Linked DNA regions of Homo sapiens: regions 1, 2 and 3 are each linked to region 4. Evidence: promoter capture Hi-C in 16 types of primary human blood cells and fetal thymus (Javierre and others, 2016). All regions are on one chromosome and are shown on one strand. The core of a region is centred on a gene start or on the middle of the fragment in contact, and the rest is flanking DNA. Distances in the headings are between cores, read along the strand shown. Region 1 has its middle 97 kb from the start of RASEF. Region 2 holds the start of GCNT1 (glucosaminyl (N-acetyl) transferase 1). Region 3 overlaps OSTF1 (osteoclast stimulating factor 1). Region 4 holds the start of TLE4 (TLE family member 4, transcriptional corepressor).

What was found. The method cuts DNA at HindIII sites, captures the fragments that hold promoters and counts their contacts. A CHiCAGO score of 5 or more calls a contact.
Region 1: a fragment that was not itself captured here is called in contact with the fragment with the promoter of TLE4 in region 4 in 1 of 17 cell types (fetal thymus); the score reaches 8.1 in fetal thymus.
Region 2: a contact is called between a fragment that was not itself captured here and the fragment with the promoter of TLE4 in region 4, in 1 of 17 cell types (neutrophils). The highest score is 5.5, in neutrophils.
Region 3: a fragment that was not itself captured here is called in contact with the fragment with the promoter of TLE4 in region 4 in 1 of 17 cell types (neutrophils); the score reaches 5.7 in neutrophils.

What each region holds. Positions count from the first base shown.
Region 1 is chr9:82,962,517-82,969,271 of GRCh38, reverse strand. No RefSeq gene overlaps it. Among named protein-coding and RNA genes, the nearest start is that of RASEF, 97 kb to the left of the region's middle. The HindIII fragment of the contact is 5,454 bases long and covers 7-5,460 here.
Region 2 is chr9:76,455,605-76,461,511 of GRCh38, reverse strand. It overlaps GCNT1 (glucosaminyl (N-acetyl) transferase 1), which reads right to left and starts at 2,330. Exons shown (of 4, transcript NM_001490.5): 1 at 2,207-2,330; 2 at 1,335-1,452. RefSeq lists silencers at 946-1,015, 2,006-2,545 and an enhancer at 1,286-1,395. The HindIII fragment of the contact is 6,561 bases long and covers 1-5,405 here.
Region 3 is chr9:75,088,659-75,092,745 of GRCh38, reverse strand. It overlaps OSTF1 (osteoclast stimulating factor 1), which reads right to left. Exons shown (of 10, transcript NM_012383.5): 1 at 4,020-4,087. The coding sequence starts at 4,053. Among named protein-coding and RNA genes, the nearest start is that of OSTF1, 2.2 kb to the right of the region's middle. RefSeq lists a silencer at 3,842-3,931. The HindIII fragment of the contact is 2,112 bases long and covers 195-2,306 here.
Region 4 is chr9:79,567,445-79,574,316 of GRCh38, reverse strand. TLE4 (TLE family member 4, transcriptional corepressor) reads right to left here and starts at 2,352. Exons shown (of 20, transcript NM_007005.6): 1 at 1,482-2,352; 2 at 531-628. The coding sequence starts at 1,526. LNCARSR (lncRNA regulator of Akt signaling associated with HCC and RCC) reads left to right here and starts at 6,365. Exons shown (of 3, transcript NR_184113.1): 1 at 6,365-6,685. RefSeq lists silencers at 741-980, 1,001-1,470, 1,581-1,740, 1,801-1,920, 3,831-3,880 and enhancers at 811-1,423, 2,151-2,240, 2,281-2,330, 2,341-2,470. The HindIII fragment of the contact is 12,449 bases long and covers 1-6,872 here.

The DNA of each region.
Region 1 (6,755 bases), core at 1,484-3,983, 3.4 Mb before region 4:
TAAGCTTCAAGTCAGAAAGGGAAGAAGAACTAGATGCATATGACTTGATTACTAGTGATTCTCTTAAGCATAGAAATAAAATTATTTCCCTCATTAACAAACAAGTAAACAAGATCCTAACCTAAGCTCCTAATGGCATTAATGCACAGCACTGACTATCAGGTAATTTTCTTTTTAAAAAGAACCCTAATACGCATAAAGATAGGAAATTAATCACTAGACTTAGGGGGAAAGACTTGTTCATGTGAGACAGTTTTACAAAGGAATACAAATCACATAATGACTCATCAGAACATCAACTCAGGAAACTTAGCTGAGATGGTTATTTTTTTCTTTATAGAATATTTTAAATATTATGAAAAATTGCCTTCCTTCCTTCCCTCCCTCCCTCCCTTCTTCCTTCCTTTCTTCCTTCTTTCCCTCCTTCCCTCCCTCCTTCCCTGTTTTTCTCCTTTCTTCTGTGAAGTATGTACTTATTTACTCATTTTTTCATTAAGGCACTGTTGCAAATTGAATTATATTTCCTAAAATATATGCCAAAACCTAAATTCCAGTAGCAGTGAATACGACCTAATTTGGAAGCAAGGGTTTTGAAGATGTCCTCAAAATACAATGAGGTCATATTTGACTAGGGTGGGCCCTAACACTATGTGACTGGTGTCCATACATAAAGAGGGAAAAACATGTAGAGGCACACACAGGGAGGACACCATGTGACAGACTGGAGTGATGTGTCTTCAAGACAAGGAATGCCAAGGGCTGCCAGTAACACCAACAGCCAAGAGAAAGGGATCGAACGGATTCTCCCCTGGAGCCTTCAGGGAAGCCTGGCCCTGCCAACACCTTGATTTTAAACTTCTGATTTACAGAACTGGGAGAGGATCAATTTCTGTTGCTTCAAGTGTGTGTGTGTGTGTGTGTGTGTGTGTGTGTGTGTGTGTGTGTGTGTGTGTGTGTGTGTGTGTAGTAGGGAGGAGAGGACCAAACAGATGAACAAGACACAGCTGCTGCCCTCTAGGATCTCACAGTCTAGCAGTAACATTAAGAGCTTTTGTGATCGCTCCACTTTACCCACAGGTGTCTCCACTTTCAGAACAGCAGTCAAGGGCAGGTGGCCTCCATGGCTATATACACCTGTTACACTTTCAATGAGGAAACTGATTGCAGGAAAAACTGCAAGGAAAGGAAATGTTAAAAATCTTTACAGTTTCCAGTAGGTAGAAATTGAGATTGGCATCGGAGAACTGAAGGCCACTTTTTTAATTATTTAAGGAATTACGAAAATATTTAGGGTTCTGTTCTGAGTTGCTTTGGGATCCTTAACCGAGATGAAGAAAACTGAAGAAATCAGGAAAAGGTAAGAAAGTTCTGTCTGAACGTACGTTTAGGGAAAAACGGGGTGCAGAGAGCATAAGCTCCTTAGAGCCCTGGATCATACGCTATTTCTTCAGCATCCACACTTCCCGGCTTCTTTCGTGTACTTTACATATTCAGGTTGGGCTGAATTAAGGTGTAGTCATTTCCCCAGATCTTATTTTACACAGGAGAGCTGAGCTGGTGAAGGGAGGTGGGGAACCACAGTGGCCTCACCTTTTGTGCCAGTGAACGTACTCAGGTGGATCTCATCCTCTAAATTCAAGGTCAGACCATTTCCTTTATGAACTTTAGAGGAGATGAAAAAGAAGATGGAGTAAGGAGAGTGGAAGTCTGGGGAGAGCGGAAGAGCAAGGAGCAGCAAGAGCAGGATGAGGAGATGGTTGGAACCCAATCAGATGGTGGTGGCCAGCCCGCTTCAGCCTAGTGGACACTTGGAGGTGGGCTCACACCTTGATAGAGCCCAATCTGAATGCTTTCCAACCTCTTCTTTGTAAAATAACTAGGAGTGGCTGCAATTTTAAAAGTAGCTGCCCACCGATTGGTAATGTCAAATTTAGCAGTCCTCAATTCTGAAGAGGTTTATATGTCTGATGGAAAGAGACAAGTAGACAAACAGGAGGCAACATGACACAGCATGAGGCACCCAAGAGCTGCATCAGGGATATGTCTAGATCAGTGTTTCTCAAGTTTTAAAACTTTTTCCCACAAAAAAGTCTTTTTAGGCATATTTTCCTAATTGTCCTCTGCCCAGGAAATGTTAATGCCACAGATATATTACATATATGTTTATGAACTGTGCACATAGCTGTGTTTTATACATTTAAAAAGTAAGGTTCCTCTCACCCTCCCCCCCGAGAAACAATTCTCCCCTCTTGGGGACAATATCACCCCCCCTTGAGAATTCATGTCTAGATGACTTTTAAGACCTAGGAATTGCTGAGTTGGAACAGAGGTCATTGTACCCAATATTGTATACAGATGGGCTTAGGAATCTAACAGACCTGGCCTTGAATTCCACTTCTGCCACTTCCTAATTCTGTGACCCTGGGCAACTTACAAACATATCTTGAGTTTTAGTTTCCATATCTATCTTATCTATATTAAAGACTATTTAGATTAAAAAGTAAAGAAAGTTAAGTGCTTTGCACATTGCTTGACACCTGGCCGATGATCAGAGTGGATGTTCTTTCTAGTTATTTGCCAGGCTGTTTTCCCCATTCTCTGCATAGAACACTAAATGAACACCAAATGAAGTGAAGTATGTGCTACTTAGGTCAAGGAGTGATACAAATGTGAGCAACAATTTGCAGAGATTTGTTTTTTCTTCTTAAAGAATCTCACCATTAAAGAGCATGACAACTTTATTCTCTAAAGGGATTTGCTCACCTGGGATCCTTGGGCCATTGGGAAGCTCTGTCTCCGCTTCCTCTCACCAGCCTGTCCTTACTTTGGAGAGGAGGCTGCAGACCGCTTCAAAATGTTAAAAACAAAGAAACGACACTCAGATGAACCGTAGTCTAGAAGAAAATTAGTTTCTCTTCAGTTGTGTTTCCTTAGCCTAAGGTGACTCTGTACATGGGTAATGGGAAAAAGCAAAAAAAGAGAAAAGAAAAAAGAGTGATTGAGGAACAGTTCTAAAGAGATGAACAAAAGCAGAAAAGTGCCTCCTTCACAGTGCTGGTGGTGTCTAGGAAGGAGCTTAAGGTGGCAGTCATTTTCTAAATGAGGTGTTTAAATATATCAGCTCTCAATTTTTAGGAGATGGGGAGATGATGCATTTGGATAATCCAGGACGCTTGCTTTTCTTTTACCCATTAGACATCAGAATTTTTGCCATATTACAAAGTCTTAAAAGTCTGAGACCTGAAAGGACTTTGAGGTAACAACTACAGTTTTTTTGATAAATTAGTTGAGAAAACTGAGACCCCACCAAAGAGGTTAAGTTATTTACTCAAGGTCACATGGCCTGTGAGTAGCAGACTGATGTACATACCCAGGTTTTCTGATCCCAGATCTACTGGGCTTTTGGTTCCAAGGTAGCAGTTAGTAAAACTAGGACTCGGAAAAAGCACAGGGTGTGGAGTCCAGTTGACTGGGACATGGATATAGCTCTTCCCCTTATCAGAAAGGTAGCTTTAGAAAAATCATTTAATCAGGGTTGTTTCTGATAAATAACAGCATTGTGGAACAGCAAAATTCTACCTGAGGAGCAAATATATCTGCACATTGTAGGTGCTTCATCAGTGAGACCGTATCTCAAACTTCAAACCCAGGTCTCTTGGTTGGTTCCCAGAATATTGATTGGCCCCTTTGATTGGAGGCCTCTCAAATGGGTCCTAATAAATTTACATCTGTGTCAATTTTTATCATAAGAAGTTTGTCAATATCATACATTATAAGAAAAATGCATATTAAAACCATAATGATATATCACTTTTCCTACTGATTAACTTGGCAATTGCAAAAAGTTTGATAGTAAATTTTGTTGGGAAGTATTTGGGAGAAACAGGCACATGCATAGTTTGGAGTATTAACTGATATCACCCATTCAGGGGGTGACTTGGCAATATCTATCACAATTTAAGGTGCACATATTCTGTAACCCAGCAGCTTCACTTTCACAGATATGTCTACACATATCCAAAATGCCTTATCATTGCAGCGTTATTGGAACACAACCTACATATTCATTTAAAAATTAGTTAAATATATTATGGTACACCTATACAATGGAGTATTATAAGGCCTCAGGGAAGAATGAACCAGCTTTACATATACTGCTCTGGAACCATGTCTAAGATGTATTGTCAAGTGAAAAAGAAAGCTACAGACTGATATGTATACTATGATATGGTTTGTGGTATAAAGGTTGTGGATACACATATGCTTACTTATGCATGGGCTATCTATGGAAGGATACAGAAGAAATTCAGGAGAGGAGAACTGGGGAATTGGAAGACAAGAGTGAGAATGCGACTACTGCTTGGTATCCCTTTTGGAACCTTCTGAGATTGGCTCCATGTATATGTATTACCCATTTAAAAAAATAAACACAAAGCCAAAAGAAAGCCCAGCCATGCAAAATACTTGTGGTCTCCGGTGCTGGCACAGGCTGTCCTCCTGCCCACCTACTCTAATCTGCTTGGCTAACCTTCTGTGGCTCTCTAACCTCTTGGATCTTCACCTTGGCTCTTTCTCTTGATTTCCAATACCTACCACCAACCTCCTTTATCCTGATGATTCATTGCAGAAGCACACTTCTGGCTTCTATCGGCTGGCACTCTCTCCTGGACACGAGGTTATGAATGCTCTCTGGCTCTGTGGAGTTAGGCTTGCTGGAGCTGCCCACTCCTGATCAGGCCAGCTAGGTCACTAGTTAGCATATACATCCTGGCTCCAGACACTGCCTATGTACAAGGAGAAAATGGTCTCCTTGTTTGTCCATTGCATAGAGGTACAAGCAGAGCTGCCTATGGCAACATTTTACCTTTGATTGGTCGGGGACATCTTGGTTTCTTCATTTACTTGTTTCCTCATTGGTTGATCTGTTGGTTCTTTTTTCAGTCATTCAGTCAATACTTCTGAATGAGAGGAACACAAGCTACAGTCCCAAGGGATTAGTATTAAGAGTATACCTCCAAATTTCATATTCCTCCATTTTCCTTTTCTCCAACCCAATGGATAATTTAGATTTTAATATATCCTGATAGCATGAGACAATAATTAAAGCTATTGCCAACTCAATATGTTGTATGAACAGTGGCAGCTGTGAGGATTGATAGGACCTCCCTTTCACCCTCACTAGCTAGAAGGATCTACAAGGTACAACAAAGAGGCATTCAGTTTAATGACATTTGCAGATGAGCCTTATTTCCCTTGGCTGATTTTTTTTTGAATCAGTAATTCTTATTATTGAGTATTTTCAGGGTTTCAATTCTCTCAGAGGGCACCTTGGGAGGAACAATGAATGCCTTTGGCCAATTGACCACTTTCTGTCTTCAACCACCTGGGACCCAGGATGAGGTTAGAAGTACTGCCAGGGACCCCATCAATATTGAAAAATGCCTCTGGCCTGATTAAGCTTTGGAAACGCCTCCATTGATTCTATTCAAATATTTATCGAACACCTACCTCAGACCTGGTACCCTAATTGACCTCAGAAAAGTCACCTTTGCCCAAGACTAGGAGGAGGAAGTATACAGGAATGCTGGGTGGAAAAAGGAAATTCCTTATGGGTTGACTGAAAAATAGGTTAGTTCAGGTCCAAGCAGAGAAGGATCCAGGAGAAACAAACATTGGGTCTAAGAACAATGATAAGGGTTTATGGCCCTTGTTACCAGCTAGATGATCTGACCTGAACTGGAATCCAAGAAGTAAAGAAAGTCTTTAGAGTGGCAGCAGATACAAGCAATGACCTTCACAAAATCACCTTTCTGAGACACCATCTTGAACGACTGCACAGAAAAAAGCATTACAGTCTCTTGACTTGTCCTATAGAAAATATTTTTCAAGGAGACAGTGTTAAATTTAGTATTTCAGAGTACAGACTTGAGGCTGGGCTTGGTGGTCACACTTGTAATATCAGCATTTTGAGACTCCAAGGTGGGAGGATTTCTTGAGGCCAGGAGTTGGAGACCAGCCTAGGCAATATAGTGAGACTTCATCTCAACAAAACATTAAAAAAAAAATAGCCAGGCATAGTGGCATCCATCTGTAATCCTAGCAATTTAGGAGGCTGAGGTGGGAGGATCACTTGAGCCAAACAGGAGTTTGAGGCTGCAATGAGCTATAATCATGCCAATGCACTCCAGCCTGGCTGACAAAGCAAGACCTTTCTCTATAACAAAACAAACAAACAAATAAGGACTCTGGAGACACACTACCTACCTGGGTCTGGATCCAGGCTTTACCTCCAAGTTTGCTTAGCCTCTCTGTGCCTCCCAATCCTCATCTGTAAGATGGAAATATGATAGGACTCATCATATGTGCTTGTTTCAGGACAAAATGAGTAAAGAACTGAGCTGGCACCAGAACCCTAGTGAGTCCTCAAAAATACAGTTAACTGTGGCAAGTTTTGCCCTTCTGAAAATGACCATGTCTTCCAAGGAGTGGGATTGTTAATTTGCCTAGTTTTGAATTTTGTGCTTTGAAATTTTTGCACTGCCAAATACTTTTTTTCCTATTCTGTGGATTTGCTTTGTTGTCCTTTCCACATCATTTTTTGCTCTCACAGAATTTATGCAAACAAAGGCAGCCACATGGTCTGTAGTCCCTGAAATGCGTTACTGATGTACATGTGCTCCTTAAGTTCAAGGAGGAGCCATTATTACTGGCTTAAAATGTCATGAAGAGGTTGCAGCTGAAAATCCCTGGGGTCA
Region 2 (5,907 bases), core at 876-3,375, 3.1 Mb after region 4:
TCCCGGGTTCAAGCAATTCTCCGTCTCAGCCTCCCGAGTAGCTGGGATTACAGGCGCCTAGCCACCACGCCCAGCTAATTTTTGAATTTTTAGTAGAGACACCATCTTGGCCAGGCTGGTCTTGAACTCCTGACCTCGTGATCCACCCGCCTGGGCCTCCCAAAGTGCCGGGATTACAGGTGTGAGCCACTGCGCCCGGCCCTCTTTGTGTTCTAAAAAGGAAAAAATATGAGCCAATATTTAAAATCAGGCTTTACATTTTTTATTTTTAAGTAAAAGTTCTCAGCTATTCGTGGAAAAAAAAAAAAAAAAAAAAAGCTGCCTACACTGTATGGCTGAATGGGAATTCCTGCATGGATACTCGGTGGAAATGGCCAATATCCACCCAGCCTTAGCAGGTTCCTCTGCAGTCACCTGGGCCCAACCAAGCACTCTTGTGCATTACCTGTTTAGTCCATGTGGATAAAGTGGATTTTGTGATCCCAGTTTTAGGGAAAAACGTTTTTCTTACTGTTAAGCAATTCAATTACAAACGGAAAAGGAGTAACTCCTTAAAAAGTGAGTGGAAGCATTGCTATCATTAATCAAGAATGAACTATAATTAATGAAGGATAGAATCTAGTACAAACTTGGGGCCAAGGCTAAGGAGATCCTTTACAGGGCCAAGTTGAAGGACGGGCAGAGGAGGTGGCAGTGACCGTCAAACCCTCATCATGAAATGGAAAAAATATCAACCTCTCGGCCAATAAAACTTTTTAAAAGTAAATTCATAGTTTGGTATATTGTATTTTAAAATAAAGGAGTTTGCCATTTCTAAGAAATCAGTTTCCCAAAACTACCATTTTAAGGGCCCGAAAAAAATTCCTTTAAGAAAAAGCAGGTATCTACACAGTCTGAGTTTTCCTCCCTGCTAGAACTGAAATCTGTTACGAAAGCCTCCAGCAGGGGGGCCTGCCTGGAATTGCCTAAGCTCCTAGCAGGTAATTTACACTGATCTTTAAAAACTACTAAGCCCTCCTCCTCCCCTCTATAAAACAAACCGGCCTTTCAGAACAGCTCTGGAAGGGGGGCAGAATGCCAGACGAAGAGACAACTTCCAGACCACGTCTCTCACCTCCCACCCATCAAATTCAGCCCACAAAAAGCTGTGGCCGCATTCTCATCTCAAGGCACCACGGCTTTCTTTGAACACCATATATCTTCCCAATTGGCCTCTTGCCCCATTATGTGTAAAAAACCGACTCTCTTTTCTGCAGAAAGAAATAACAAGGCAAAGGGTGTACAGGGCAACGTTTATATGCATCTACAGCATGCCAGGTGCCTACAGAACCTACCTCGGCCTAGGCGGTCCGTGCCCTAGCCGGGATCTGCAGGCGCCCTCATCCACGCTGGGAGACGGGAAGAGGAGAGGGAGGCGTGACAGGCGAGGGTGCCTGTGCTGCGCAGAAAGCGCTGCCAGGAGAAAAGAAGCAGTGAGCAAGGGCTTCTTCCATTTCAAAAACCTAATAACCAAAACTTGGAGGAATCTGCCTGAGATACTTAAAAAAAAGAGGAAAGAGAAACCTAGGAGGGGGTAAAATGCTTTTAAGACGAATCACTTGTTTTCGTAATAGACCCTGCGCGCGAGTTTCCTAGACTGCCGCGAGAAGAAGGAAAGCGAGGGAGCAGGAAAGGAGAGGCTTCGGAGCCCCTAAACTAACGTCTCTTTTCTTATTAGTAATAGTTTGCTCCAGGGTGAGTCATTTATTATCCTAGCGTTGGCCTCTTTATCAGTAAAGTAGGGGTGAAAATGCATCTTAGCCGGGCTGGCGTTAGGATTCAATGAAGTTAAATGAAGTTAAGCCCCTGGCACCCATGGGATGGCAGCGAGTCTGTTCGTTCCCTGCCTATCCACGCCCGCAGCCAACCCCTCCGACATCTAAGCTACACGGACCAGGGGCAAGAGGCCAGAAAGTGACTTTCAGGGGACACGGGGCACCGGCGTCCCAGCCCCACTGAGCGGACGGAAAATGAAGGTGGAAGGAAGAGGCGCCGCTCCATTCCGGTCCCGGGCGCACCCCGGTTCTGCTTCCTCCTCCGCGGGGGAGCCCAGCCCGCCCGGGGCCACGGGGCACTGGCTGAGAGCCGGCTCCCTCCCACCCATCCTTCTCAGCCTTCCCCCACCGCCGGGCGGCCGAGCAGGGGAACACGAGGGAGAGCCGGTTACCTGGAGTGGGCGTCTGACCCCGGAGTCTCAGGAGGATGCCCAGCCGCTCCTGCTCCACCAAGCTCCCGCCCCGCGCCGCGCTCTAGGCGCTCCGGAGCTGCGCCTGCAGCCCTCACACCAGCGTGGCCCGCCCCGGGGCCGCCCCCAGAGGCCCCGCCTTTCTAGGCCCCGCCCACCACGTCCCCGCCTCGCCCACCTGCGCGAGCTCGGGGCTGGGGACTTGCTGCGGACTCGCGGTTCCCGCCTACAGGCGAGGGCGCCCTCTGGGCACTGACGTGGTCTGGGAGTAGCGCTGCGATCCTAGTGCTTCCTCGCTCCTCTTCCTCACTGTGCTCTGATTCTTAAGAGGTGTGTGAGCGGCGTCTTTTTAAACATTTTATGCCTCCCTTCCTCGAAAGCAGGAAACTCGAGAAATGCTGCCTTTTCTGATTTTAAACATGAAAATATGTTACAGAACAACAATAAAATTAAATTCCAAGGTTCTCGATATGTAAAGTTTAGAGATAACCATGTAGGTGTTTTTTTCTCTCCCCTAACGAACCTTGCTTCCTAAATTTAGCATTTAAGAACTCATTACATTCATGTGTATTTCCACATAAAAATTAAGATCAAATTAAACTGTGGAACAATCCACAGTGCTGTGGAAAGTAGGAAAAAACCTTCCCCGCCCTTATAGCACAGATCTTTGTGTCAGTTATAAAAGTTGACACAGTTCTCTTTGTAACAAGGGGAATATTGTGTCTGTGTCTTCTTTCGTTGGATTTTTAGCTCCTAGAAAACAGAACGAGGTCTTATTTGTTTCCATGTTGTTTAAAAAAAATTCTGGCCGGGCGCGGTGGCTCACGCCTGTAATCCCAGCACTTTGGGAGGCCGAGGCGGGCGGATCACCAGGTCAGGAGATCGAGACCATCCTGGCTAACATGGTGAAACCGCGTCTCTACTAAATATACAAAAAATTAGCCAGGCGTGGTGGCGGGCGCCTGTAGTCCCAGCTACTCGGGAGGCTGAGTCAGGAGAATGGCGTGAACCCGGGAGGCGGAGCTTGCAGTGAGCCGAGATCGTGTCACTGCACTCCAGCCTGGGCAACAGAGCGAGACTCCATCTCAAAAAAAAAAAAAAAAAAAAAAAAATCCAACTCAGAGGCCATTAGACTGTGATATGTTTGACACTTGCCTGATTTGTCAACAAAAATTAACATAAGATGATGGTATAGAGGAAGAAAGACTTCCCCTCTACTCTCTGAGGCTTGGATAACTAAGTCTATGAAATAAATTGACTGCAGGTAGATTAACAAGAGAAAAAGTACACAGATTTCGTGTAGGGGGTATCACAGAAAAGAAAAACTAATATTCCCTCTGCCTCCCCCAACAAAAACTGAGATTTTAGGAGCTTGTGTATCCTCTTCATTGGGGAGGGACAATTTAGGGGAGAGGAAATGATTTTGGGAAAAACTCCTGAACTCCTTCAATGGCTAGCTTTGTTTAATATCTCATGAAATTTTTCATGAGCAATTCAAGCATAATTGTTAAGAGCAAGTAGATTAGGTAAATGTAAATGGAATAAAAGTTTATAAACTTTTAAAAATAATTTGTTTTATAAAATTTGTCTACTTAAAAATAGTTTTAAAAATCTTTTTTGGTGACTTGAAATTTCGAACATATTAAATTAAGTAATAGATATTCATTAAATGTCTGAGTCATTTGTAAGTTAAAATACTGACATGTTAATTGCTAAACATAAGTTTAAAGTATAGCCGGGGCTGGGCACAGTGGCTCATGCCTGTAATTCCAGCACTTTGGGAGGCCGAGGTGGGTGGATCACCTGAAGTCAGGAGTTTGAGTCCAGCCTGGCCAACATACCAAAACCCCGTCTCTACTAAAAATACAAAAATTAGCCAGCTGCGGTGGCGTGTGCCTGCAGTCCCAGCTACTCAGGAGGCTGAGGCATGAGAATCGCTTGAACCCGGGAGGTGGAGGTTGCAGTGAGCTGAGATCGTGCCACTGCACTCTGGCCTGCGTGACAAAGCAAGGCTCCATCTCAAAAATAAATAAATTAATTAATTAAAAATAAAATATAGCTGGCTGTTTGCAATGGCTCACGCTTGTAATTCCAACACTTTAGGAAGCCGAGGTACAAGTATCACTTGAGCCTGGGAGTTTGAGATCAGCCTGGGCAGCATAGCCAGACCTCACCTCTACAAAATAAAAATAGATAAATTAACCAGGGGTGGTGGCCAAGCAATAGATTTATGAATTAACTTTTGGAATATATCTTGTTTGTCAGTTGGATACTGCCTGTATACCATAAGTGTAATCCATTTTGTTTGTGTATGTGACAGGGTCTCACTCTGTTACTCAGGCTGGAGCACAGTGGCGCAATCACAGCTCACTGCAGCCTCAACTTACCCCTGCTCAGGTGATTCTCTCACCTCAACCTCCCAAGTAGCTGGGACTACAGGTGTGTGCCACCATGCCCGGTAATTTTTTGGTATTTTTTGTAGAGATAGGGTTTCACCATGTTGCCCAGGCTGGGTTTGAACTCCCACGCTCAAGCGATCCACCCACCTCAGTCTCCCATAATGCTGGGATTACAGGTGTGAGCCACCTTGCCCAGCCCACTTATTTTTAATGCCTGCAATAACATACACCCATAAATCTATACAAGTAGTTTAGAAGGTATTTCTGGAATGCTTAGGGGTGTATCAGTCAGGGCCCAGTCAGAAAACAGAAATCACAGCAATTACTTTTACAGAGAATTTAAGGTCATGAAGATTGGCAAGGCAAAAACATTGTAGTAACAGAGAGAGAGTAACTGCAGGAAGCAGCTGCCATGCACAGAGCTGGGGAGAGGGGAAGTGTTGGGGTTATCAGAACCTAACAGCCAGGAGAGGGCCCCTGGTTGGCTGGGAGTCAGACCTCAAAGGAGGGGGCGGTACCCAGCTGGTGCTTTTATCTCTGAAGGTAAATATTGAGGCTGGATGGGAGAGGGTGGATTAAAACAAACAAACAAATCTAAGAAACTGGAACCAGCTGTTGCTGCAGCCAGGGAGAAGAGCCATTGCTTGGTAACATGGACAGGAACAGTAAGCAGCTATAAAGTAGCAAGTCCCTCTCCTCAAGCACCCCTTATAAGCAAAACCTTATAGGAAATGTGATTTGCTAAGTCCCAGCCCTGGCTCACAAAGCAGAAGATAGAAGCTTGAGTTTGAACTCTAAGACATACTTCAATAACCAGCACAAGGAGCAAACTCATGATCACAAACACCCAACTCTCCTAATATTATAGATGTGGGAAAGTGTCTGATAAACACAGCTGTCATAGTAATGATTAATACAATAGCAATATATTCTTAAAATGTCATAATAAAACTATAGTTACAAGTACAATCAAATAACGGGACAGAGGCAGGGCATGGTGGCTTATGCCTGTAATCCCAGCACTTCGGGAGGCCGAGGTGGGCAGATCACTTGAGGTAAGGAGTTCGAGTTCCAGCCTAGCCAACATGGCGAAACCCCGTCTCTACTAAAAATATAAAAATTAGCTGGGTGCGGTGGCACATGCCTGTAATCCTAGCTACTGGGGAGGCTGAGGCACGAGAATCGGTTGAATCTGGGAGGCGGAGGTTCCAGTGAGCCAAGATCATGCCACTGCACTCCAGCCTGGGTGACAGAGCAAGATTCCATCTCAAAAATAGATAAATA
Region 3 (4,087 bases), core at 1-2,500, 4.5 Mb after region 4:
TAATTGTTTTTATTTTCTTTTTTGAAATGAAATGGATGTGAAGAAGAAAGAAACCTGAAAGAATATTCAACCAAATGTAAATAGTGATTATCAGTAGATGACAGGGATGATTCCTATATTTTAGTTATATATTTATTGTTTACCTTTTTCTAAATTTTCTAAAAATAAAAAAATTATATTTTTACTTACAAGCTTTTTTAAAAAAAACAAAATGAATGAGATCAGCCATCCACTTGTAAATATGGGATACTCTAGGTAATATCTGTAGATACATACGTCTTCCCCATTAGACTCAGGACCCTCGTGAATGACACCATAGATTATTGTTCCTGGGAACCCCAGTGTCTAGCACAGGGCCTAATATATGAGCTACATTTATTAAGAAACATTTGTTTAGCAAATGAATTCTGGATATGGCCAAAAACCCAAACAAGGTAACCCTGATCTATCCTCCAGATGGTACAAAAATGGCCAGGGTCTCCCACTAGCATCTGCCCGGGACTTCCCTGGGCAGCCTCCTTCCACAAATCGGCCCCCTGTTGGGGATGTGCTGATCAGCCAGAAAGATGCTATTAGCCTGCATTATAGCTTAATGTCCCTTGTTTTTAATATCTTCCAGCAAGTCCTTTGTCCTTACTCACCTAGCTCCTTTCCTTTTAGTATTGTCTACTGAATTGAGCCATGCTGTTTTGCCCAAATCTTGCTCTGAAAGAAGCTGTAAGAAACATGGCTAGGATGTTCTGTCTTGTATTTCTGCTAGAGATATCCAGGCCACTCCAATACTTTAAGAGAACCCACAGGAAAATCTGTCTCAGATCTCAATGCCATTAAAATAACTACTTTTCAGAGTAAGTGACACATTTTAATTTTATGAGCACTATGAATCTTGAGATTTTTCTCTCTGCTTGCAGCTGAGAGCCAAATCTACAGTGACCTTACTACACATGCAGGTCTGTCTGTAAGCTAGCTTTTCCTCTTGTTTCATCTTACTATTCTTCCCTTCCTCTAGATGACCATGCTTTATCTTTACTTTTTCCTCTCTCTCAGATCATGTGTATTTTTAGAAGTCCTTTTGGAATGAGGCAAGGTTTAAACAAACCAAAAAATTAAATACAACCCCAAAGCCCCCAATCCCATGCTGTCTTTGGAGATTTTTATCCATGCAGCTTGCCTGCAGGACAAGAAAGTAAAGCTCCACACCACTCTCCTTGCTGTCAACCAGGGGCTGACCTTTATGTGCATTTGTGACAAGAAAGTCTGTAGACCAGAGGCCCCTCCCTTTCGACTTCCTGACCACCAGCTCTAAAATACACATTTGACCGCCAGTGTGAATGGAGCACTATGACTTAAGGCAGAATAGCAAATGGTTAAGAGTGCAGACTTTGGCCAGGCACAGTGATCCCACACTTTGGGAAGCGAAGGAGGGTGGATCACAAGGTCAGGAGTTCAAGACCAGCCTGGATCCTGTCTCTACTAAAAATACAAAAAAAAAATTAGCCGGGCATGGTGGCGGGCTGCCTGTAATCCCAGCTGCTCGGGAGGCTGAGGCAGAGAATTGCTTGATCCCGAGAGGCGGAGGTTGCAGTGAGCCGAGATCGCGCCACTGCACTCCAGCCTGGGCAACAGAGCGAGAGTCTGTCTCAAAAAAAAAAAAAAAAAAAAAAGTGCAGACTTCAAAGCCAGACTACCTGGGTTTTAATACTGCCTGCTACATCCCCCACTCTAACTGTTGACTTTAGACAAGTTAAATAACATTTCTGCGCATCTTTATTTCCCCATCTGTGCAACAGGAACAATATAATGGTACTGATCTCATAAGATTGTTGAGAGCAGCAAATGTGTTAACACGTGTAAAGTGACTATACCATTGCCTAACACACAGTAAATGTGGGACAGTACTACGATAGGACATTTCTGTTTTTGTTTTTTGTACTCTGTTGAGACGGGGTCTTGCTATGTTGCCCAGGCTAGTCTCAAACTCCTAGCCTCAAGCAATCCTCCCACCTCAGCCTCATAAAGTGCTAGGATTACAGGCATGGCCCACTGCTCCTGGCCATCGCTTTTTTTTTTTCTTCAACTAAGCTAGCCCACACAAAGTTTCAACTCTGATTGGCAGTAATGTTTCTCACTGTAAATTACTAAACTGGCAAACCCATTTCTATGGTAACTTTGTGTCTGGATCTCATTTGTAAATTAATGTTGATTCAAAATTCCCTTTATCCTGAATCAAGGACCAGATAAAACAAATTAAAATAAAATAAAATGCAAAGTTCCCTCTAAACACCTGTCATGTTTAACCATAAGCTTTCTGATGTGAAGGAGAAAGGAGGTTCCTGGGAATGTATCCACAATTAGTAACAGGATGACCCTTAAACCCCCAAGTGTGAATGAACCCACATGTATACATTACTGTGTACACACACACACACACACACACACACACACACACACCTGTCAATGTCCCTCCATTTGCAATATAGACAGCATTTAATACGCATGAAGAGATTTTTAAAAAGGGCATTCTTTAACGTATTTCAACTGGCAGCAGGTGATCAGAAAAAAATAAGATAAATAAAATATTGTTTAGCTATCAAAGAACAACTCTGCACTGTTAGATACTTAAGGTCCTGATTTGCACCTGAGTTTAGAAAGCTACCTCATACATATGCACTTAAAATGGAAATTTCTCATCAGATTCCACATCTAATGCAATGCAGAACCCAACTCTAGCTGTGCCCCATCTTTGCCCAGGGCAGAGCCAGTCTCAGCAACTTCCTTCACACTCAGCCCACCAAGATGTCAGTCCTCAGTGAAGCACTATTCCACATACGTACGTACATGATTATCAAATAAAGGGACTTCATACTCCAACTGCAGGAACGCAAAGAAACAAAACTAGATAAGTATGAAAGCTATAGAGTTTAGGAAAATCAAGGAAAAAAGTAATCACTGAAACTCATCTCTTGCAAAGAAAGTTACTTCAAAATTTGACGTAAATGGATTAAATTTCAGCATTTCGCTATACCGAAATTACACTATGGGAAGAAAAAACCCAAGAATACATCGGAGCCATTTATCTTCCATTTCCTGTATTTCCCTTAATTACCTACCCAAATGAATGCACGTAAGAGTTGTTAAAGTATTGAAATACGTCAGTCCTTTCTAATTACCTACCCAAATGAATGAGCGGAACAGTATGTTACAACTTTTAATTAAAATACGTCAGTTTCTTTTACAATTATCTTATTTCTGCATATCACAGAAAATATTCTAAGAACAGAGCAAAAATGAACAAGGACAATCCGCCCAGAAAACTGCTTTGAGGAATTTAGTAATCTCAGCCCTCTCAGGTTTAGCACGCCAACGTCTTTGGGAGAGCAAAGGCAAAGGAGATGATAAAATGACACTTCCAAATAGCAACAGCTGAGATCACTGCCGCATCCTAGATTCTTTCCACCAGGAGCGCGAGTATAGGGTTTTTTTCTAAACGCTCTTCCCAAGATCCCGAGGTCAATTTCAAACGCTGCTCCACGCTTAAGTCCCGAGGGAGGCTCGCTCGCCCACCCCACCCTGCAGGGATTGCACTTCCCGTTCGCTCTGGCCGGTCAGGAACCCTAACTTGACAGTGACAAACACTGAGAAAAGAGGAAGTGGCTAAAGATCATTTCATGACATTTTTTAAAGGGAGATCAATGGCCCTGTCTTTCCGGAAAACTTCCATGGGACGTTGCCATCACACCCTCTGAAAGTTTCAGCGAATGACAACGTAGCAAAAGTGAGGGCTACTCCCCTTTAAATATATATATATATATTAATCCTCGAAATCCTCTTGCTATCAAAATCGATCCCTCCTCCGTAACAGCGAACGCAAAACTAAGAGCGCCCATCCCGGTGGGGCCGATCTCGGAAGCCAGGCTCGGGGCCGGGTGCGCGCCGGGTCCTCCCTGCCAAGCTGCAGAGGAGGCGCCGGCACCGCGGCGGTCGCAGGACCTGGCAAGCGCCTACCTTACCTCCCTCACCTGGTTTGACTGGTTTGGGTGGCGGCTTCGACATCTCGCTTCCTGGAGCTGCAAATCCTAAAGACCCC
Region 4 (6,872 bases), core at 1,103-3,602:
TAGGCATCATTAAAAAGCCAGCTAAAGAAAAATGTCTCAAAGGCACCCTAAGTCTAAAAATCGTCTATAAGATGAAAACATTTTTTTTTTTTTTAGCATAAAAGTAATGAAATCGCTCACTCCGACTTCCCTGGGCTCTCAGCTCTTCAGTGGAATGGCAGAAAAAAGTGAGAAGGAATCAAGTCCGGAGTAATAAAGAACCAAGGATGTCAAAAGGCCCCAGAATCTTCCCAACCTTTCATTCTCCCGGCCCCAATAAATCAATATCGAAAGTTTGGCCTCAGCGTTTTCCAAGTCTCCCCAGTTTCGATTGTTCTGCCTTCTTTTTATTTACGGTAGAAGAAATGTTTAATTTATTTACACCTGCCTAAGGAAGGAGGCCTTGATTTGCCCTTTCTGCCCACCGAGAAAAAAAAATAATACCTTTGTGACGCCCCCACAAAAAAGGAGGAGGGTAAGTGTTTGTGTGTATTTGTCGGGGAGACAAGAGCTAAGCAAACAGAAGGATCAGCTAAAGTCAATATCGTTACCTGTGGTATTGAGCCTGTAAAAACTGAAACTCTTCCTTAATCCGATCACAGGATTCGGAAATTGTAAATTTAAAGGGTTGAGCAGGCTGATGCGGTGCCTGAAGAACAACAATAAAATATTTAATTAGCCCACATCACAGGCGAAGCAGGGAGACGGAGAAAACCTACTATGCGGCGTTAGCGGGGGGTGAGGGTCATCGCGCACGCAAGCAAAGAGAGATTAAAACTCTCCTCCCGCAACCCTCCTCGCGCCCAACAGCCCAGGCAGAGGCTGGTTTCGAGGTGGTCCTGGGGCCCCGCATACTCCCGCCCGCAGGCCCCCGCGCCCCGGACCCCGAGGGTTCGAGTCCCGTCTCCCCTCCCCGGCCAAAGACAGGCACCCAGGGACCCGCGCGCCGCGCCCACTCCCTCCTCACCCGGAATCGAAACTGGCCCGTCGGGGGGACCCGCGCCATGGCGTCGGGCTGCGGTCAGGCCGGGGGAGGAGGGAGGCGGCCGCCACCCTCTCGGCTCGTTCGTTCGCCCGCTCGCCCCGGCGGCCCGCGGCGCGAGGGGCCGGCGCCCCGCACTTCCAAACCGCAGCCAGCCCAGCAGCGCCGCTGCCGAGGGCGCCCTCCCCGCCCGGGCGCGGAGTCGCGCCTCCTTCATCGCTCGCCACCCCCCCTCGAGGAGTCGCGGCGCGGGGACCGCAAACGGCTCGGCGCGGCTTCCAGGGGCTTCAAAGACAACAATAAGAAAATGGCTACAACTCAATTGCCTCTCCGCACCCCCTCCGAGGGCCACCGCGCCGGGGGGTGGGGGTGATGGCGGGCGGGCTGCTCCCGGCGCGGGGCGCCGATTTCGGGCGGCTCTCCACGCCCCTCCGGCCAAAAGACACAACTCGGTGCGCAGGGGGCGACGCGGGGAATCCCCCAGCACCCGGCGAGCCCGCGCCCCGCCGCCCGCACTCACTGGGTGTCTGGTCTGCGGGTACATCTTGCTCAGGTCGCGAATCATCCAAGCCGATTTAGTTGGCTGCGCTCGGCAGAGGCGCGCGGCTCATTGGCTTTAATGACCCCGAAGAGGAGGCGGCCGCGGCAGCGGAGGCGGCCGGCTCGGTCTGAGGGGCGGCTCGGGCGGTCCCGGCCCCCGCCGGGTCTCGCGTGACACGGGCGGCAGGAACGCGCGGCGGCGGCTGGGTGCCGGCTGCCGGGCCGCTCCGCATTCCCCGCGGGCGTCACTGGCCCGCCGCGGGCATTGTCCGGCGCGCGTCTCCCAAGGCAACGCTCCGACGTTCGCTCCGCCGAGGCGCACCCGCCGAGCCCGGCGCCGCGGCCGCCGCTCACCCGGCCGGGAAAGTGCGGGCTCCGCGCCCCACCGCCCGCCGGCAGCTCCTCTCGCTCGCTCTGCGTCCCACTCCAAACTTTTTTTATTTGTCTTTTAATTGGTTGTTATTCCTCCGAATGAATGATCTTTCTTCTTCCCTAAAAGCAAACACAAACTCCTTTGGTTCGGAAGAGGTCTCGGCGGTGCTTTTTGGTTTCTCTGGAGATTTTTTTCACTTCACAGCAACGATCTTTTAAAAGGCACCTTTTAGCTTCTTTTACCACATCTCATTTCCTTATTTCTCTTCCTTCCTGTTTTCTTGTCTTTTTTTTAACCCCAAATTGAAGGGGATTATAAAAATAAAAGAGTGAAACGCTTGCGGCTTTTTTTTTTAATTCTCTCTCCTTTCAAACTCTGCGAACACCACCTCAAAATAATATACAAGTGTGTGAGAAAGGGGGAAGAAAGCAGCCAACAACCCAAACACCCGCTCAGCACAGCTCTAACAACACGCTCTGTGTAGGTGACTTCTTTGACCAAATTTAGCAGCAGCTAATCATTAACATTCTGATACATATTCACAATCTTCCGCGGGGCGGCCGCGCAGCATCCCGGGAGATGTAGTCCGCCCCGGGCGACCCTGCCTGAGAATACGGCCAGATTGACTACAATCACCGGCCCGCCATGCGAGCGCTCTGGCGAGCTCTCCAAGCGCCCCGCCCACCCCCGTTGCGGTAGGCGTCTCCACCAACCAATCAGAGGTGGCTGAACATTAATCGCCGTTCTGTGTTAGTGCCCATCATTTCACTGCTGACAAATGGCAAGCCAGCGGGGAGGAGCCAACCCAGCTGAAACCCACGTGGGGGCCGGGCGTCGCCTGTAGCTCCGACCAATTAACGAAGAGGAATGAGGTTGGCGGAGGCGGGGCGGAGATGGCCCGCCCAAGGCGGAGCTTCGCCTTGGCTGACGTTCCTTAGCGCGAGCGTTCGAACCGGGAAAACATTTGTTCAGCTGTCAATCAAAGTAACGTGGGGCTGGGAGAATCGGCGGCTGCTGCTGTTGCTGCTGCCCTGGCTGCATCTTCAGAATTAGGTGTTGGTGGTGGTGGTGGTGGTGGCGGCAAAATAAAGAGGGTGGAGGGAGCGGTGAGCCTGGGGGCTGGTCAAAAGATCTTCTTCCGAGTCTCGTCCTCCCGCCCACCCGTCTCCCAACCCAGACACCTTCGGCCCCTCGCTCCGCAGCCGCGCCAGGAATGCGGACTAATTAGGGTCCAATGTCTCCTTAAAGAGACAAGCTCGGCCTTGTGTAACGCGCCGAAACCCCTGTTGAGACAAGAGGGGGAGGATCACGCTGATCTTACTTCGTTCGGTTCACATCAATTTTACGCGCCGCTGGAGCCGGCATAATTTTCCGTGTGAACGCGACTCGGTCCCCGTTCTTGTTTAGAGCCAGAAATGGAGTCGCGAGATGCTGGCTGGGGCCGGGGCCGCGGGGTGGGCGGGGAGCTCGTCCCTCCAAGCCCCGCGGGGGCTGTGATTGCCATTTAGTTCCGAAACAGGCCTCCCTCCCTCCACCCCCGGAGGCACTCGGAGAGAAAGCGCATCCCGACGCTCCATCGGGGGTCGCGGGGGGCAGTAACCGTGGGGGCTCCGGGTGGGGCTGAAGATCCGGGAATCAGAGACGCTGGACCTCCAAAGAAACTTTGCCGACTGGGCCACGTGAACCCCGAACACGGTCGGTACTGAACAGAGCAGGCCGACGGGGCACGGGTAGAAAACGCCCCTGCGCGCCCTGGGACGTTCCCTCCCCCAGATCAGTACCAAGACTGCGCCTCTTTTTCCCGCTCTTTGGAGAAGCAAGTCAAGTTTATCCCCGTTAAAAACAGAGCAGGGTGCCACGCGGGCCCGAGAGATGGCGGAAAGGTGGGGGTGGCCCCAGGGGCAGATGCTGGAGGAGGAGAGAAAGGGGCAGCCATGGCTGAGGAGGGGCACCCCTAGGGAGGGGCCTGGGAAATGGGGGCGGCCTCCGTCAGTGCGCCTTTCCATCCTTAGTCCGTGTCCAGCTGGAGGCAGCGCCCCAGTTCAAGGGGAGGCTGCTGAGGCTCGCAGTCTTTTCTAGCGAGCGGCTAATCTTGGGGACAGGGAAAAAATTCGGAAAAAGTCAAGAAGAGTGTTGGCTAATGTAACAGGCTGGGTTTTAGACGTTTATTTCTATGCGTGCTTGCCTACTGTAACTTGACCTGTTGGTTGAGATGGTGCCGCCGGTTCGGCGTTAGTGGAAAACTATTCTTCTTAATGATATCCCTTTCCTCAGTGGATGACTCGGTGACTTAATGTCCAACCTAGCACGTTCTGTGAACCTCCTTCCGTTCTGGCCACTGTAGTGAGCTGGTGCAAAGGAAGGCTATGGTGGTCTTCACCTGCCTCTAATTTCATACTAAAAACCCAGAGCCAAAGTTCACAGAATGTTTCAATTCGGCAAATATTTTCGCCTCCATCCCCAAAATAAGAGGACAGAGAAGTCCTTTTGACAGTTTTCTGAACCTCTGCTGTTCCATACCTAGCCACATGTGACTGTTAAGCACTTGAAATGTGTCCAATTCAAAATGAGATGTGCTGTAAGTACACATATATGTGGCATTTTGAAAAAATTAATGTGAAAAAACTGCAGCTCAATAATTTATAATTATGTCAAAATTGTGATATTTTGAATAACTCAATTAAAAATATTAGTAAAATTAATTTTGTCTGTTTCTATTTATTTATTGTATTGATGGGGGTCTTCCTGTGTTGCCTAGGCTGGCCTCAAACTCTGAAGCTCAAGCTATCCTCCTGCCTGAGCCTCCAGTGTTGTTGGGACTGCAGGCACACACTTTTTTTTTTTTTTTTTTTTTTTTTTGAGACAGAGTTTCGCTCTTGTTGCCCAGGCTGGAGTGCAATGGCACGATCTCGGCTCACCGCAACCTCCGCCTCCTGGGTTCAAGCGATTCTCCTTCCTCAGCCTCCCGAGTAGCTAGGATTACAGGCATGCGCCACCACACCCAGCTAATTTTTTGTATTTTTAGTAGAGACGGGGTTTCTCCATGTTGGTCAGGCTGGTCTTGAACTCCTGACCTCAGGTGATCCGTCCGCCTCGGCCTCCCAAAGTGCTTGGATTACAGGCGTGAGCCACCGTGCCCAGCCTCTTTTTACTTTTTTAACTTTGTTCCTAGAAGATTTTAAATTATGAGGCTTACATATTTCCATTAGACAGCCCTGCCCTGAAACCTTCCCAAGAATCAAAAGTGAGAAGACTTTAGTGATACAATTTGCACACGAGGACAGCGAAGTTTCTAAGAACACCAGCAACAACCATGTTTTATTCTAAGGTTGGTTAGTTGCTTGCTCCCACTAGAGCTTTTCAATGGTTTGTGAAATCACCCACAGTGCCTCTGTAGGAAGTTCCATGTTCTCTATTTTAGCCAGAATGTTAGCAAGTTCCATGAGAACAGGGACCTGGTTGTGTTCACAGTTGCACTCCAAACTCCCCAAATTATGTCTGCCATCACTGTCTGGTAGTTGGTGCTCAGTAAATATTTGTTGATGGCATTAATGAATGAATACCTCATTGCATCCTTATAGGAAGTTTCCACATCATTTGGGTCATATTTATTGAAATTCTGTGCAGTTTTCTCTCAGGACAGGAAACGAGAATTCTAAGAATAGAACCCGAAGAACTATTGAAAGGGTCAGTGGACAAAGAGGAAACTTTGCTCTGTTAGGAAATATCAGATCACTTATAGCAAGGATCTTTCCCCTAATCTCTCTCGATGGTTTGTGTCAACAGGAAAGTGGCTAGAGAAGTCAAGATGTTTCTTTATTTTTTAAGTTCTGTATTAAAATATAGCCCTTGGATGTGTTTCACATTTTGGCCACGTGGCAGAGCTATGTAACTCACCTCAATGTCTCAGAAAGATGCAAATGCAGCAACTGGCGGCCCAGCCCTAGCCGTAACACAGACTGTAAGTGGGGCTCATGGCCACTTTTTCTCCTTTTCTCTGCTGTGCTTCTCTCATTGCACTTCTCGCTAACTGTTGAGCCAAGCTATGATGTTATCTGGAGGCCTGTCTTATCCCTACCACAGAGTGGGGGGTAGGTGGGGTGTTCCAGAGTTTTCATGTGGGAGGCACTTGGCAGCAACTTTCATGTTAAAAGCTAGGCCTGAAAGCTCCAATCTTGAAGTGACATATGCCAAGCATGCTTTTCACTTTGGTTAGATGTAAATCATTTATTTATTACTTCACCAAATATTTATTAAACCTACTATGTGCCAGAATATGGGGATTTCACAATAAAAGTGGCTATTATTAATATGTTGCCTCTTAGCTCCAAATTCATCCTCATTGCCTGCCTAGTGAAACTGAATCTGAGCCCTTTAAATATTTTCCAGCTGTTAAAAAAGCTAGGTCAATAGAAGGCGCTGGAGAGACATTGCAGGAGGAAAGGGTTTGGTTTCCTGGTTCCTGGCTCTGGTTGCATACTGGGCAGGTTCCTACAGCACAGGTAGCAAGCAGCAGCACCCAGCAGCCAGCAGCTTCCTCCAGAAGCCCCTTAGGTGGCTTTGGAGCAAGTGCCTCTAATGAGTCACCTCCCTCAGCAGCTTTCCTTGGAACCCCAGAGAATGGATTTCCAACGAGTTCTGGAATGTGGATTTCTAGCAAGTTCCAGAAGGCAGAATTCTAGCAGGGCTCTCCTGCTATTCAGAAAGTTACAACTGTGCCCTCTCCAGCAAAGTCTGGATCTCAGCCAGCCCTAAGAGTGTGTCTGTGTCTTGGAGGAGCTCTTTTTGAGATGCTGTATCTCAGCCCTAGGGTTAGTAAGTAGCTGTTCCTTATATCTCTATTTCTGTATTATTTAGAGCTCTCTTTACCTCTTACCAATCTCCCTTTGATCCAATTCCCTGTTATAGGTAATAATTTTTTATATTGAACTTTCCTTGTTGAAATTACTGTTTTTCTCTCTTGATCGGATCCCGATTGATACAGTAAACAACATAAGC